5 separate regions of the Homo sapiens genome follow, and all the other regions are linked to region 3. The links are contacts of gene promoters, found by promoter capture Hi-C in blood cells and fetal thymus (Javierre and others, 2016). All regions are on one chromosome and are shown on one strand. The core of a region is centred on a gene start or on the middle of the fragment in contact, and the rest is flanking DNA. Distances in the headings are between cores, read along the strand shown. Region 1 overlaps DYNC1I1 (dynein cytoplasmic 1 intermediate chain 1). Region 2 overlaps DYNC1I1 (dynein cytoplasmic 1 intermediate chain 1). Region 3 holds the start of DLX5 (distal-less homeobox 5). Region 4 overlaps DYNC1I1 (dynein cytoplasmic 1 intermediate chain 1). Region 5 overlaps DYNC1I1 (dynein cytoplasmic 1 intermediate chain 1).

What was found. The method cuts DNA at HindIII sites, captures the fragments that hold promoters and counts their contacts. A CHiCAGO score of 5 or more calls a contact.
Region 1: a fragment that was not itself captured here is called in contact with the fragment with the promoter of DLX5 in region 3 in 10 of 17 cell types (endothelial precursors, activated CD4 T cells, total B cells and 7 more); the score reaches 12.3 in endothelial precursors.
Region 2: a contact is called between a fragment that was not itself captured here and the fragment with the promoter of DLX5 in region 3, in 1 of 17 cell types (neutrophils). The highest score is 6.4, in neutrophils.
Region 4: a contact is called between a fragment that was not itself captured here and the fragment with the promoter of DLX5 in region 3, in 1 of 17 cell types (activated CD4 T cells). The highest score is 6.4, in activated CD4 T cells.
Region 5: a fragment that was not itself captured here is called in contact with the fragment with the promoter of DLX5 in region 3 in 1 of 17 cell types (total CD4 T cells); the score reaches 6.4 in total CD4 T cells.

Annotation. Positions count from the first base shown.
Region 1 is chr7:95,928,722-95,931,421 of GRCh38, reverse strand. The region is part of intron 6 of DYNC1I1 (dynein cytoplasmic 1 intermediate chain 1); the gene reads right to left. Among named protein-coding and RNA genes, the nearest start is that of DYNC1I1, 160 kb to the right of the region's middle. The HindIII fragment of the contact is 1,413 bases long and covers 562-1,974 here.
Region 2 is chr7:95,973,048-95,975,747 of GRCh38, reverse strand. All of the region lies in intron 6 of DYNC1I1 (dynein cytoplasmic 1 intermediate chain 1), which reads right to left. Among named protein-coding and RNA genes, the nearest start is that of DYNC1I1, 200 kb to the right of the region's middle. The HindIII fragment of the contact is 5,585 bases long and covers 1-2,700 here.
Region 3 is chr7:97,023,439-97,026,138 of GRCh38, reverse strand. It overlaps DLX5 (distal-less homeobox 5), which reads left to right and starts at 1,308. Exons shown (of 3, transcript NM_005221.6): 1 at 1,308-1,870. The coding sequence starts at 1,516. RefSeq lists enhancers at 1-159, 1,086-1,802. The HindIII fragment of the contact is 4,218 bases long and covers 1-1,788 here.
Region 4 is chr7:95,889,009-95,891,708 of GRCh38, reverse strand. All of the region lies in intron 6 of DYNC1I1 (dynein cytoplasmic 1 intermediate chain 1), which reads right to left. Among named protein-coding and RNA genes, the nearest start is that of DYNC1I1, 120 kb to the right of the region's middle. The HindIII fragment of the contact is 5,609 bases long and covers 1-2,700 here.
Region 5 is chr7:95,946,312-95,949,011 of GRCh38, reverse strand. The region is part of intron 6 of DYNC1I1 (dynein cytoplasmic 1 intermediate chain 1); the gene reads right to left. Among named protein-coding and RNA genes, the nearest start is that of DYNC1I1, 180 kb to the right of the region's middle. The HindIII fragment of the contact is 258 bases long and covers 1,312-1,569 here.

The DNA.
Region 1 (2,700 bases), core at 19-2,518, 1.1 Mb after region 3:
ATCCCAGCACTTTGAGAGGCCGAGTGGGTGGATCACTTGAGGCCAGGAGTTTGAGACCAGCCTGGCCAACATGGCGAAACCCCATCTCTACAAAAAATGCAAAAGTTAGCTGGGTGTGGTGGTGCAAACCTGTAATTCCAGCTACTCAGGCGGCTGAGACACCAGAATTGCTTGAACTGGGAGGTGGAATGGAAGTTGCAGTGAGCCGAGATTGCGCCACTGCACTCCAGCCTGGGCTACAAAGTGAGACTCTGTCTCCAAAAAAAAAAAAAGTATTCATGAGTTACTTCTATACTTAAAAACATATTTAAAAGATTAAACTGATAATAAAAGAATAATTAGAAAATATTTCACCTGACATTTAATGCAGCAATACTCTGAATTAACCAGTTTTTCTACGATCTTCCCAATAAGCATCACATGAAGCAATCTTCCTTCCAGGAAAATGCCAGGGCTTTGTTCTCCAATTAGCTGTCCTGTGAACACTGAAATACTGTAGCCTAGAACCTACAGAGCTAACAGACAAGAAACAATGGGGGCAGAATCCCACTCTGAAAAGCTTATGGAGCAACCAACCTCTCCAGTAAATGAGGACAAGCTACCCTGTTATGTTTCCTTTTTAAATATTTTTTTTACATCAAAAACACATTGCAAGGTAGTGAGGACTTTACGGACATCCTACCAAAACAGGCTGAATAATTCTGATATTGAAAACCAGCCTAGTTTTAATTAACTGCCAGGACTCAGCCACATCCTCAAGCTCCAGATAGCCAATAACAATCTTGTAATTTCTAAATGTGAATGCCACTCAGGTGGAGACCAAATAGTGAGGTTTCAGCTTACCTCTTAAATTGTAAACATAAAATTTCAGATATCCATAGCAACCAGACCTCCCTCCACCTTAGACACTTTCCTCAAGAAAAGGGAGGAAAAAGCATTTCTGCGGTGGACAGTACATAGACAGTTGCCCATTAAAATGGTAACATTGAAATATAAATAGCCCAACCTTTTCATCATTTATTGACAAATGACTTACCAAACTGCTAGTGAAATCCTTTAAAAACCTCTCAGATATGCTGGAAATTAAGACACCAGCAACAAGTTAGATTGACAAGTAATTACAATTAATGCCACCCCAATCATTAGTAAAACACATTTAGCTATATATTTGTAGGCCAATATTTAATAGCAAAACAGAATTCTAAGAACACCACTGTGCCCAAAAGCTCTCTGATCTTTACCAATTTAGCAACCAGCCAGGCTAGAATAGAATAAATATCACATGGTCTGGGAAAATGGGCTGTCCTGATTCTGAAAGATTGTGCTGGCTCTTGATATGGGGAGCCATCTGTCAATGCTCTTTGAAAAAGTGAGAAATCAGGGCTACTTCTCTAGCATTCGTGAATCTAACCTTCTGTGCTGTCACCCTTTCCTTGGGAAATATTTCTTAAGAGCCAGATGTTAGTATTCATTTCAGTTCACAAAACAGTTACTTCCCAAGGTCTATCAGCAGCAGAATGGATAAATAAATAATGGCATAGTCACACAGTGAAATACTACATAGTCATGGTAGTGAATGAACCACATCTACATACAACAGCATGAATGCTTCTGAAACATAATGTGAAATGAAAGATGTTAGCCATGAATGCATATGTACCATATGATGACATTTGTAGAAAATTTAATAAGGGGCATAACTAATCTATGATGTAGTGGTTACCCTTGGGGGAGGAGAGACTGAATATGGACTTCTGGGTTTCTCCTTATATTCTGAATCTTGATCTGAAGACTGGTTTCATGGTATGTTCATGTCAAAAATATCAAGTTGTACACTCCTGATTTGAGTACTTTCCTGCATGCTTTTACGCTTTCAAAAAATTTACAAGCAACAACAAACAACCCCAGCACAATTGTTAATGAGCAGCATACTTTCCAGGCTCTATGAAGGAACTAGGAAAAATATGACAAGCTTTAGCCTCCAGAAACTTATATTCAAGTAGGAGAGATGAGTATAAAAAGCAAAACCATATCATTTTATGTAATAAGGTTACATAAAACATAAAAAGTATTACATATTACAGTGTTAGGTAAAGGGAGTTCCAGGAGCAATTTCTTCTGCTCTCATTGTGAGCAAAGATCACAGTAGGTGACACTCAGCCAGCCTTTGAGGACTGAGTTCAATAAATACAGGGTGAAGGAAAGGGATATTCTAGGCATGGGCACCCTGGGAGGTTAGGGCATTGCAGGATGGAAGAGCAGAAAATACTAGTGATAGAATATGAAAATCATCCACATTGTGTGGGCCTGGACAATTAAAACATGCTCATCTTTATGCATTTGTTGAGTACATCACAGTTTTCCAAAGGACACTTTACTCGTACCCAGTTGCAGGACTCTTATCTTCAAACGAGGAGTATCTTGAACACTGTTGTATCAACTGTGTAATACCGGTAAGTTTGGGGACGGAAGGGAGGGAGAAAGGAAAGAAGCCAGGCTCACATAGTAATACTCTTAACAAGCACAAGAAAACAGCAAGAACCACCACTTATGCTTCATAATTTATATGCATTGTCTGTTGCATTTCATCCTCACAACTCTAGGAGCTGGAGACTATTATTATCTCCATTTGGTGGATGCCAAAACTGAGGCTTAGTGAAGCTCACTAACTGCCCATGGCCGTATTAGCCAGTTGAAATC
Region 2 (2,700 bases), core at 86-2,585, 1.1 Mb after region 3:
GCAGCCATGCCCTGCCACTTATTAAGTACAGGGCAAATACAACAAAAAACAAAGGTGATAAGGCCAGAACTATGGGTTGAACTGTGTCCCCAAAATTCATATGTTGAAGTAATAAACCCCAGTACCTCAGAATGTGGCCTTATTTGAAAATAGGGTCACTGCAGATATAATTAGTTCAAATGAGGTTATAATGGAGTAGGGCACCTAATCCAACATGACTGGTGCCATTATAAAAAGGGGAAATTGGATGCAGACACACAAACATAGGAAGAACACCATGTGGAGATGAAGGCAAAGATCGGCCTGATGCTTTTACAAGCCAAGGAACACCAAAGAGTGCCAGAAAACCACCGGAAGTTAGGAGAACAGATTCTTCCTCACAGTCCTCAGAAGGAACCAAGCCCACAGACTTCTTGATCTCAGATCCTAGCCTCCAGAACTGTGAGGCATTACATTTCTGTTGTTTAAACAGCCAGTTTGTGGTATTTTGTTATAGCAAAACTTGAAAACTAATAAAGCCAGTAAGTGCATTTCCTTCTACAATCTTACAATTTAGTAGAAGGGATACAGGAGATATTCACTAACACTTAAGGCAGTGATGAGTGCATCACTTGTATAATCTAATTTATTTATCAGAACTTAGTACCATTAGCCCAGTTTTACAGATGAGAAGACAGAATAATTTCCCCCGAAGGAACTGCAACCACATCCCGCTTCAAGTTCTGTCTGGCTCTGCCTGTTTTGGGGTCTGTGATCTTTAACCACTATGCAAACTGCCTCCTGAACCACAGCATGATGTGAAATAGAAATGCCATGGAGAAAGGACTGAAATACAAGCAGCTGCAATGTTCTATTGCAAGGTAAGGAGGCTTTGCAGGGACTTTTTGAGGTGGACTTGCATGGCCTCAACATGGATTGTTCTTCCACACTCAGGAGGTGAACAAATACAAGTTGTAGCTGAGAAGGTATGCTTCTCACCCTTGAGAGCTGTACATAATGGATTATTTTATTTATCAGGTATTCTACAACCACATTCTGTTCTAATTTTCATTCTGGAATCCACTGCTTTGAGACCTGGCCGGCAATGCTTAATATGAAGTGTTAATTCCCCCAGCCAGAAAGATTCACAGCTTAGGTGAGAGCAGCACCCTAAAGGAAGTATTTGATCTTGTTCCAGGCTGGAGTCCACCACTTGCTGGCCCCTGGGTTTTATCCAATTCATAGGAACTCTCTGAGCCCCCATTTCTCATCTGCTGGAGTGGGATAATAATCCTTCCTTAAAACACGTTGTTGTAAGAATAACTAAGTAAAATAACCAATACAAAATTGCTTTTTAAACCATCAAGGTCATTGGGAACATACTTAAGCATAAATCTTCAAAACAAACATTGCCTTAGAGTCTAACAAATATTGACTGAGCACTTACTATGTGCCAGGTGCTGGGCACACACCAGGGAACAAGACAGACAAAATAATCTCTGTGCTCATGGAGCTTCCATTCCAGTGGAGAGAAACCAAAAACAAATAAAAAAACAAAATATATACTGTGTCAGACAAATGCTATGGGGGAAAATACAAAATAGGAAAGAGAGATTAGGCATTCTGGTCAAGAGTGGGAGAGTCTCAATTTAAAACAGAGTGAAAAGGTCCACCAAGGCCACAATGAGGTGACATGTGAGCAAAAACTTAATGGAGTTAAGGGAGTGAGTTGTGTGAAGACCTTGGAGGAAATAAGACTAATAACAAATAGATTCTTGCTTCTCAATCCATGGACGTGAGGGGAGTAATGGATCAAGGTCTGGATTCACTGATAATTAGTTATACTGACTATAGATAATAATTGTGCATTTATTAGAGCCATCTAGTTTGAGCACTTAAATCTTCTAGTTCTTAAAACTGAAAGTAGTTTTACCAAATGACTTTGAATTAGTCAGCTTAAATAGTAACAAGTTCTCATCTTTCACAGCTATAAGGGTGTTTATTTTAAACATTAATTCTCAGAAGAGTCAAAAAAGAAACACCATGACCAAAAATGCCACTACGAGCTTATTGGAAAAATATTATTCTGTGAAGGGCTTGGCTATAAAAAGGACTAGGTTTGTGATACAATGTCTAGGTTTATGCATAGAAGCATGTGAGGAAATAGCAGGTTATCTAATTCCTTGAATGGAAAATGCTTCCCCAGAGAATATGTTTTTGATCGGTCTAAAAAAACACTCACAACAAATATGTATTGTGTTTATAGTATGTACAAAGTCCCATAATGAGAAACTGTGAAAAACAGAGAAATTTAAAAAATAGTACCTGCCCTTTTAAAGTGTCTACAAACCAGTTGTAGGTATTAATTTTTAGTGGTCACAGAATTCTTTGTCTATCAGCCTTTTAAAGACATAAAGTAAGTGTTTTGGTGGATTTGCAAAGGAAATAAAACACAAGAGACTGGTTTGTTTCTCTGCATACTGATATGTTTGCCTTGCTCAGCAAAGAGAGTATATTTTTCTTTAAAACTCTGGTTTCCTTTCTGGTGCAGTTGGAATTACTTCTGTTGAAACCATTTTCAAAACAGTTAAATAACTTTAAAGAAAAGGATTTATGTAGACCTGCTACAGACTACTGATATATGAGTTGTGCCACTACTTCATACCCAGTTACGTTTCCTTTGAGATTGGAGGGAATAAAATTACCACCCATGTATGGCTT
Region 3 (2,700 bases), core at 59-2,558:
GTCCGCGGAGTTGCCTATTTGAGGGGAGTAACAATGGGGATTGGGAGAGACTTTTATGCTGAATTTCTAAACTCCCAGCTGAATCACGACTAGAACAAGGATAGCACCTCCTGAAGAGCAAAGTTTAGATCTCGTGTATCAACTGAATGATTCTTGAATCCTTTCTTCCCTTGCATACGAGCTAAGTAGGATGTCTTTGCAGCAGGAAATAAAGGGGAGAGGGTACAGAAACCCGGGTCTGGGAAATGGAGAGACTGGGCCACATTCATGGAGCCAGGAGGGGGAAATCAATGAGCATCATCTGACTTTGCAAAGGCTTTGATCCTTGTCTCCTTCCCCACTTCCGAGACTTTCCCATTCTTTCCTGGAGGTATGGCAGGTTATACATGGATCCATTCACCTTTGCGGGAGTCTTTGGCCACTGAACATAGTTAAAGAGCCTTTATTCCAATGTCTTGAAAATAGATGAAAATATTAAACAGAAGTGGAGCTGTTTGGCTCTTTTTGCAAGCCAGCAACGAGGATTTGGGCTTCCTTAAGTTATATGTGTTTAAGACAGTAATTTTTAAAAGTCATTATAAGGACTTTGGGCTGCAGGAACTCTCCCTGCCATTCACCGGCTTAATGGACATTGTGCCTTCTTGGGCATTCCTGTCCAGCCCGCGTCCGGGAGATACTCATCTCCTGCAAAGGAAGTTGCCTCTTTCCCCAAAGAGCAAATTTTCAAAACATGTAAGTTACAACTTGCTTCCCAACACTCCACTAAAAAAAAAAAAAATGCTGTTTCCCTTCCTTCTTGCCTCCATCCTACATCCCCCCGCTCCCCACTCCCTGCACCTTGACTCCCTATTTCAGTATCAGTGTTTAATTCTACACTCGCCTTTGGTGCAGCCCACGGGGGCGGGGTAGTGGGAAGCAAGGAAAGATGGTCGCCCACCTCATTCCCAAAACATGTGCACTTTTGAGGCTTCTGATTGGAACACATTGTCCCCAGACATCACAGAGCCTTGTGCTGTGGCTTCTGCGATGTCTTTGGAATTTACTAAAAACAGATAGACTAAGACCCCTCCCCACTCCACAACAAGCAAAAACACACACAAGCGCGCGGGCGCGCACACACACAAACACACACACCCCCTCAGTACCCCCCACCCCCTTTTTAAGCAATGCTTTGTTGTGCTAAAACTAGTTGGACGAGTTAGGGTGTTACTGTTGCTCCCGAGGCCCTGGCCAATAGAACCAGATCCACCCCGCTGTGCGTAAGCGCGCAATTAAGGATTTAACCAAGGCTGTGCTGCGCCTCAGCCAGCAGTCAGCCGGCCGGAGACAGAGACTTCACGACTCCCAGTCTCCTCCTCGCCGCGGCCGCCGCCTCCTCCTTCTCTCCTCCTCCTCTTCCTCCTCCTCCCTCGCTCCCACAGCCATGTCTGCTTAGACCAGAGCAGCCCCACAGCCAACTAGGGCAGCTGCCGCCGCCACAACAGCAAGGACAGCCGCTGCCGCCGCCCGTGAGCGATGACAGGAGTGTTTGACAGAAGGGTCCCCAGCATCCGATCCGGCGACTTCCAAGCTCCGTTCCAGACGTCCGCAGCTATGCACCATCCGTCTCAGGAATCGCCAACTTTGCCCGAGTCTTCAGCTACCGATTCTGACTACTACAGCCCTACGGGGGGAGCCCCGCACGGCTACTGCTCTCCTACCTCGGCTTCCTATGGCAAAGCTCTCAACCCCTACCAGTATCAGTATCACGGCGTGAACGGCTCCGCCGGGAGCTACCCAGCCAAAGCTTATGCCGACTATAGCTACGCTAGCTCCTACCACCAGTACGGCGGCGCCTACAACCGCGTCCCAAGCGCCACCAACCAGCCAGGTACATGGACAGGGGGAAGGCTGGGCAGATACAGGGCGACTAGGACGCTGGGGGCGCGAGATGGGGTGGTAGATTGGGGGTCACAGCGGTTCACGGCAGTGGGGGCGCACGCGGCAGAAGGGAGTAGGACTCAGACCCTCCAACAAAGAGAGTTTCTCGGGCCAGCATTTTAGGGATTTTTAGTAGGAGAGCCCTGTGGAGGTTCGAACTAGCGTCTCTCCCCTCCGGCACCTTCCAAGGCCCTTCAGTCGCTGAATTCCCAGCTTGCCCGGCCAGGAAGCCGGCTAGGCTGGAAAGGGGATAGGGGTGGAGAGAAGAAAGAATCAAGCAGCTCCTGGCGTTTGCGTAACAAAGAGAAGGTTACTTGGGAATTTTGGTAAGCGTGCTGGGTTGGTGCGAGTGGGAATAGAAGGCTGCCTCAAAAACTCAGTCAGGATTAGTTTGAGAGCCGCCACAAGCTAGCACGGTGCGGGTGCCCTGAGCACGCTGGGTGGGGGTGGGGGGGTTAAGGAGTTGTAGCCAGCCAGAGAAGAGCGCGCCGAGAGTTTTGCGGTTTATCCAGGCATTTCCAAAAACAAAAAGCCATTTAAAGGTGGAGGAGGGTTGCTGAGGGGTCACGTTGTAGGATAGATTTTTTTTTCTGTCTCCATAGGCGCCCACAATTTGTCTTTCCGTCCTCCTTTTTCGTCCGCTTTGAAACTTACTTAGAGAGTTTAAGAGGGTTAGTGAGCTTGGGCGGTAAGAGAAAGGCATGAGGCTCGGCGGAGAGGTTTTATTGGTAAGGTTTGATCTCTTCCCACCAGCACATTAATAATCCTGCTAATATTAGC
Region 4 (2,700 bases), core at 189-2,688, 1.1 Mb after region 3:
TCCCTTTCCCCCAATTTATAACCCCTGTATATTTGGTATACTATTCATAAAGACACTGAATATGCAAGAACATTAAAACTCTCCCTAGGCCACACACTTCATTCTGTTCATATGGACTCTTCCTTTCCATGTAGCTCTCTTATTCTCCCACATTTGTGAACCAACCTGACACCAATAGTGTCCCCTGATTAAACATAAATTCAGGTATCTCCTCCAAGCCCAGATGCCCAGAGACATCTACAAAGGCAAAAGTGGACATGAAGCAGAGGTTAAGAGTGCATTTTACTCTGTTTGCTTCTCTTACTTTACTATCACTTTTGATTTTTACCCTTAGACCAAACGCAAAACCGTTGAATACATTTTCTAAATAGCTATTTTATTTTGAAGCCCACAATCTGTATTAGCTTGCTAGACCCATAACAGAGGACCACAGACTAGGGAGATCAAACATCGGAAATATATTTCTTCGTAGTCTTGGGGCTAGAAATCCAAGTGAAGGTGTCAGCAGGCTGGTTTCTTCTGAGTCCTCTTTCCTTGGCTTGTAGATGACCACCTTCTCCCTGTTTTTTTCACATGGGCTTTCCTCTGTGTGTGCCTGGGTCCTAATTTCCCCTTCCTATAAGGACACTAGTCATATGTTGGATGAAGGCCCACTCTAATGACCTCATTTTAACTTAATTACTTCTTTAAGGACCCTATCTTTAAACACAGTCACATTCTGAGGTACTGGGGATGAGGACTTCAGCATATGAAATTTGGGGGATACACAATTCAGCACATCACATCCACTAAAAATCACTTGTAGGTTTACTTCCTGTTACATCATAGATTTTTTTCTAATAAACTACGTTCAGGAAGAATTTTAATAAACCAACAGTTTTCAAACTGGTGCCCAGACCAGAGAACCTGTTCGAAATGCAGATTTTAGGGATCCATCCCAAACCTTCTGAATCAGAAATTCTGAGGGTGGGGGCTGAGCAACCTAATTTTTATTAACATACCTTTCTGGTGACTGCGATGCACACTGAAGTGTGAGAACCTCTGAAATTAACCAAATGGCAATTTTAACATACTTTAAAGAGCATCTCATTAATTTAATTTTATTTATTTTTTAAACTTTTATTTTAGGTACAGTGGTGCATCTGAAGGTTTTTTATATGGGTAAATTTGTGTCACAGGGGTTTGTTGAACAGATTACTTTCTCACTCAGGTACCAAGCCTAGTACCCAATAGTTACTTTTTCTGATCCTCTCCCTTCCTCCTCCTCTCACCCTCCACCGTCAAGGAGGCCCCAGTATCTGTTGTTCCCCTCTATGTGTCCATGTGTTCTCATCATTTAAGTCCCACTTAAAGTGAGAACATGTGGTATTTGCCTTTCTGTTCCTGCATTTTTGTTAAGGATAATGGCCTCCAGCTTCATCCATGTTCCTGCAAAGGACATAATCTCATTCTTTTTATGGCTGCATAGTATTCCATGGTATATATGCACCGCATTTTCTTTATTCACTTTGCCACTGATGGGCATTGAGGTTGATTCCATATATTTGCAATTGTGAATAGTGCTGCAATGAACATACACATGCATATGCCTTTATGGGAGAATGATTTATTACATCAGATATATCAGTAAGGGGATTGAATGGTAGTTCTGTTTTTCGCTATTTCAGGAATTGCCACACTGCTTTCCACAACAGTTGAACTAATTTACACTCCCACCAACAGTGTGTAAGCATTCTCTTTTATCCGCAACCTTGCCAGCATCTGTTAGTTTTTGACCTTTTAATAATAGACATTCTGATTGGTGTGAGATGCTATCTCATGGTGGTTTTGATTTGCATTTCTCTCATGATCAGTGATGTTGAGCTTTTCTTCATATGCTTATTGGCCACATGTATGTCTTCTTTTGAAAAGTGTCTATTCATGTCCTTTGCCTACTTTTTAATGGGGTGTTGTTGTTGTTGTTGTAAATTTGTTAAAGTTTTTTTATAGATACTGGATATTAGACCTTTGTCAGATGATGAATAGTTTGCAAATATTTTCTCTCATTCTGTAGGTTTTCTGTTTACTCTGTGGATGGTTTCTTTTGCTGTGCAGAAACTCTTAAGTTTAATCCAATTTGTCAATTTTTGCTTTTTTGCAATTGTTTTTGGTATGAAAATGAAATCTTTGCCAGTTTCTTTGTCCTGAATGGTATTGCCTAGGTTAACTTTCAGGGCTTTTATAGTTTTGTAATTTACATTTAAGTCTTTAATCCATGTTGAGTTGATTCTTGTGTATGGTGTAACATAGGAGTCCATTTTCAGTCTTCTGCATATGATAAGCCAGTTGTCCCAGAACTATTTATTGAACAGGAAGTCGTTTCTATAAGGGGTAATTTGAATGGAATAATGTGGTAGATTCTTTTTAAGGCAAAGAGTTCTTTTAAAAACGTGAGTAATCACCTTCTAATTTTTGTATTTTGAAAATTCTGAATTTTAATGCCAACCCTTTTTTATAAGGAGGCATATCAGCATGTCATTTGATTAAGTCTGATGTTCACACTTTGCAACAATTTTGAGTATACAGCCATATATATGTGAATATATATACTGCTAACTCTTATCTTCAGCTTGCTAATTTCTACTAGGCTCACTAGGTAATATCTCCCATGTTCTATTTCAATTTATTCAGGTCAAACCCCAATTGCAGCTTCCTCCAATG
Region 5 (2,700 bases), core at 191-2,690, 1.1 Mb after region 3:
GAAGACTTGGCCTGGGAAACTTTATGGTCTCAAAGGAAACCTCAGACAAATGTAAATGAAATTACAACATCATCCTATAAACCTGACAAAGACACTGGGTATCTGGATAAAGCTAACTGCCTATCTGCTATTAAAGAATTGCTGAATTGGTTGCTTCACCAACTCCTACTTCTCACAAAATTTCCCCTCAGCACTCCTATTCATTCCACGTGCTCCAGTTTTGCAAAACCTGTAGCTGGGTCAAAGTATGCCCACTTGTTTTGGAAGAATATTAGGAAGTACTTATCTCAAAGAGTTGTTGGGGGAACTAGGTGAGTGAGTACATATAAAGTTCCCACATAATCCTTTATGTAGACTAAGTACTCAATAAATGTTAGCTTTGATATTATTTCTACCTATGTACAGCCCTGGAAGCAGCCCAAGACAAGTTCCTCTGACTTATTTCCTTTCTGTTCTAAGGAATCAAAGGTGTCAACTCAAGAACCAACTAGTAAACCATTGAGGTTAACAAAGCCACTCCCACTGTGCCCACTACTGGATGTGTTCTTGGGACCTCAATAATGCAGCTTGAGTCCATACTGATGATAGATACAAGCATGGGTCTACTCGAGGAAACTGACAAATGTGGACAACCCCTGTCTATTGTACACACTTTCAGGCAGGCCTAGAGTCCCTCCCAGATCTGCAGCTTCAACCTCACTTTCATGTTGTTATCCAGAGAATTCAGTGCCTATCTTTGTCTGGGGTGCTGCCCAAAGCAAGTCTCACATACATGCACATGTCAGCTAAGGCCATCCTGCTCATTAAGATAGGTATACTACTGCCTTGAAACATCCAACGCCCTCGAAACACTTCTGAGGAACTCTAGGAGATGGAGGGATGGTGATGGCTGGTTCCTGCTTCCTTCCTCTGCTAAATTCTTACTCGCCCACTGTTGGTCATGGGGCTTTGCATTGATTTCAGCTCTGTTTACCACAAAATAGAACTTAGCCCCTTTCCTTGGTTGCTACCAAAAAAAAAAAAAAAAAAAAGCCACATACAAAGACCTGGTTTTTGACAGACTTTATTAAAAGTTTGAAAAGATGGAGAGAATTTACAGTGCAACAGGGCAAACTCCTTAAAAATACTTAGTGGCCTTTTCTGTTCTTGAAAGCTTCTCAGCCACATAACCGTGATGCTTGAAAAGGTGTTTTTCACCTCTTTTCTCTCAGCTATTCCTCTCAAGGGCAAACACCCACTCTGATCCTAAATTTCTCCCATTATTTTATGCAGAGCATTTCAGCTGCCTTAGCTCCTTTGCCTGTCTAAGCTTGGAAAAGAGGGAACTGGAGAGATATCAGGGTTTAGAGGAGGGATGGAAAGAAATCTGCCCCACCCCTCACTATGGGTGCATGCATTTCCCATGGGTGGAGTGAGTAACACACATGGAGGAGAGCTGGTCCTGAGCTATCCTGGGCATCTCCCACCCAAAAACCTTCCATTTCTAGGAGAAGGCCTCAGCAGCAGGGGGCTCTGGGTAGACCAATGGTGGCAGGACTCAAGAAAGGTAAGTGGAGGTGGAAACAAGCTTCATAAAGTGGTTCATGAAATGTTTAACACAGGCAGGGGCTGCCTTAGTGTTTTCTGGAACACAATCTGGTAATTACCTTGGGCTTACTGTTCAAAAGGCACATTGCTGTCAAAGAAGAGAGACCATAATGACACATACTAACACACACACCAACATGAGTTCATATTTACAGAAACACTGACGTGAGTAGATATTTACAGAAGAAATGCACCTAAGATTTTCACAGAACACTCACTGCGCTAGGTATTTTGCACACACTATTTTATTAAATCTTCACAAACTGTCCTTCATAGTACTATTATTATCCCCATTTTTACAACAGAGGAAATTGCAACTCAGAGAAGCTAGTTAACTTGAGCTGGCCCTTAAAAATACTAAAATTTCTACCTGTACCAGGGCTTTTGCATCACTTCTGTTTGGATCCATTCCCTCCAGTAATCCAGAACTGTCTTCCTTGTGTTCTCCATGCTTCTGTCCTAACATCAGCAGACCAGGGAGGCCTTTGTATCCATCCTATGCCAGAGAGCACTCTCCTCCCAACCAGCTGTCTGTCTCTTTTACTCCACTCCTTTTCTTCTCTATAGCACACACCACCATCTGTATCTACTTGTCTTCAATTTATTGCATTTCTTCCCCTGTCATTCAACCAAGATATAAGCTCTATCAGGGCAGGGACTGTACCTTGTTCACTATAGTGTTCTTAGCATCTAAGATAGGACTTGGCTCAGGGTATGCACTTACTAGATATTTGTTCAATGCATGAATTAATCAATGAATGAACTGTAAGTGTATGGACTATGACTCTGTTCCACCCAAATTTATTTTAAAATGGTGCCCTCATACTCAATGAATGAGGCTCAGAGCCTAGGTGACTATTGCTTACATGTTTGAACATGTAATGGATTGCAAGTGAAAAGAATCACACCTCTTTCTAGGGTGCTGATGAAGATTTTTGTGGAGGAGGTGGCATTTTTAGAGTTTAGTTATATTTATCTACATGTTTACTTCAGCACCTCATATCATCATGCTTATGTGCTTTTCCAAACACGCTAATTGAAGATTAAACAATCTAAATAGGTAGAAAGAACATCTTTTTGTCTTAAATATCATTCTCTCCATATATATTTTTA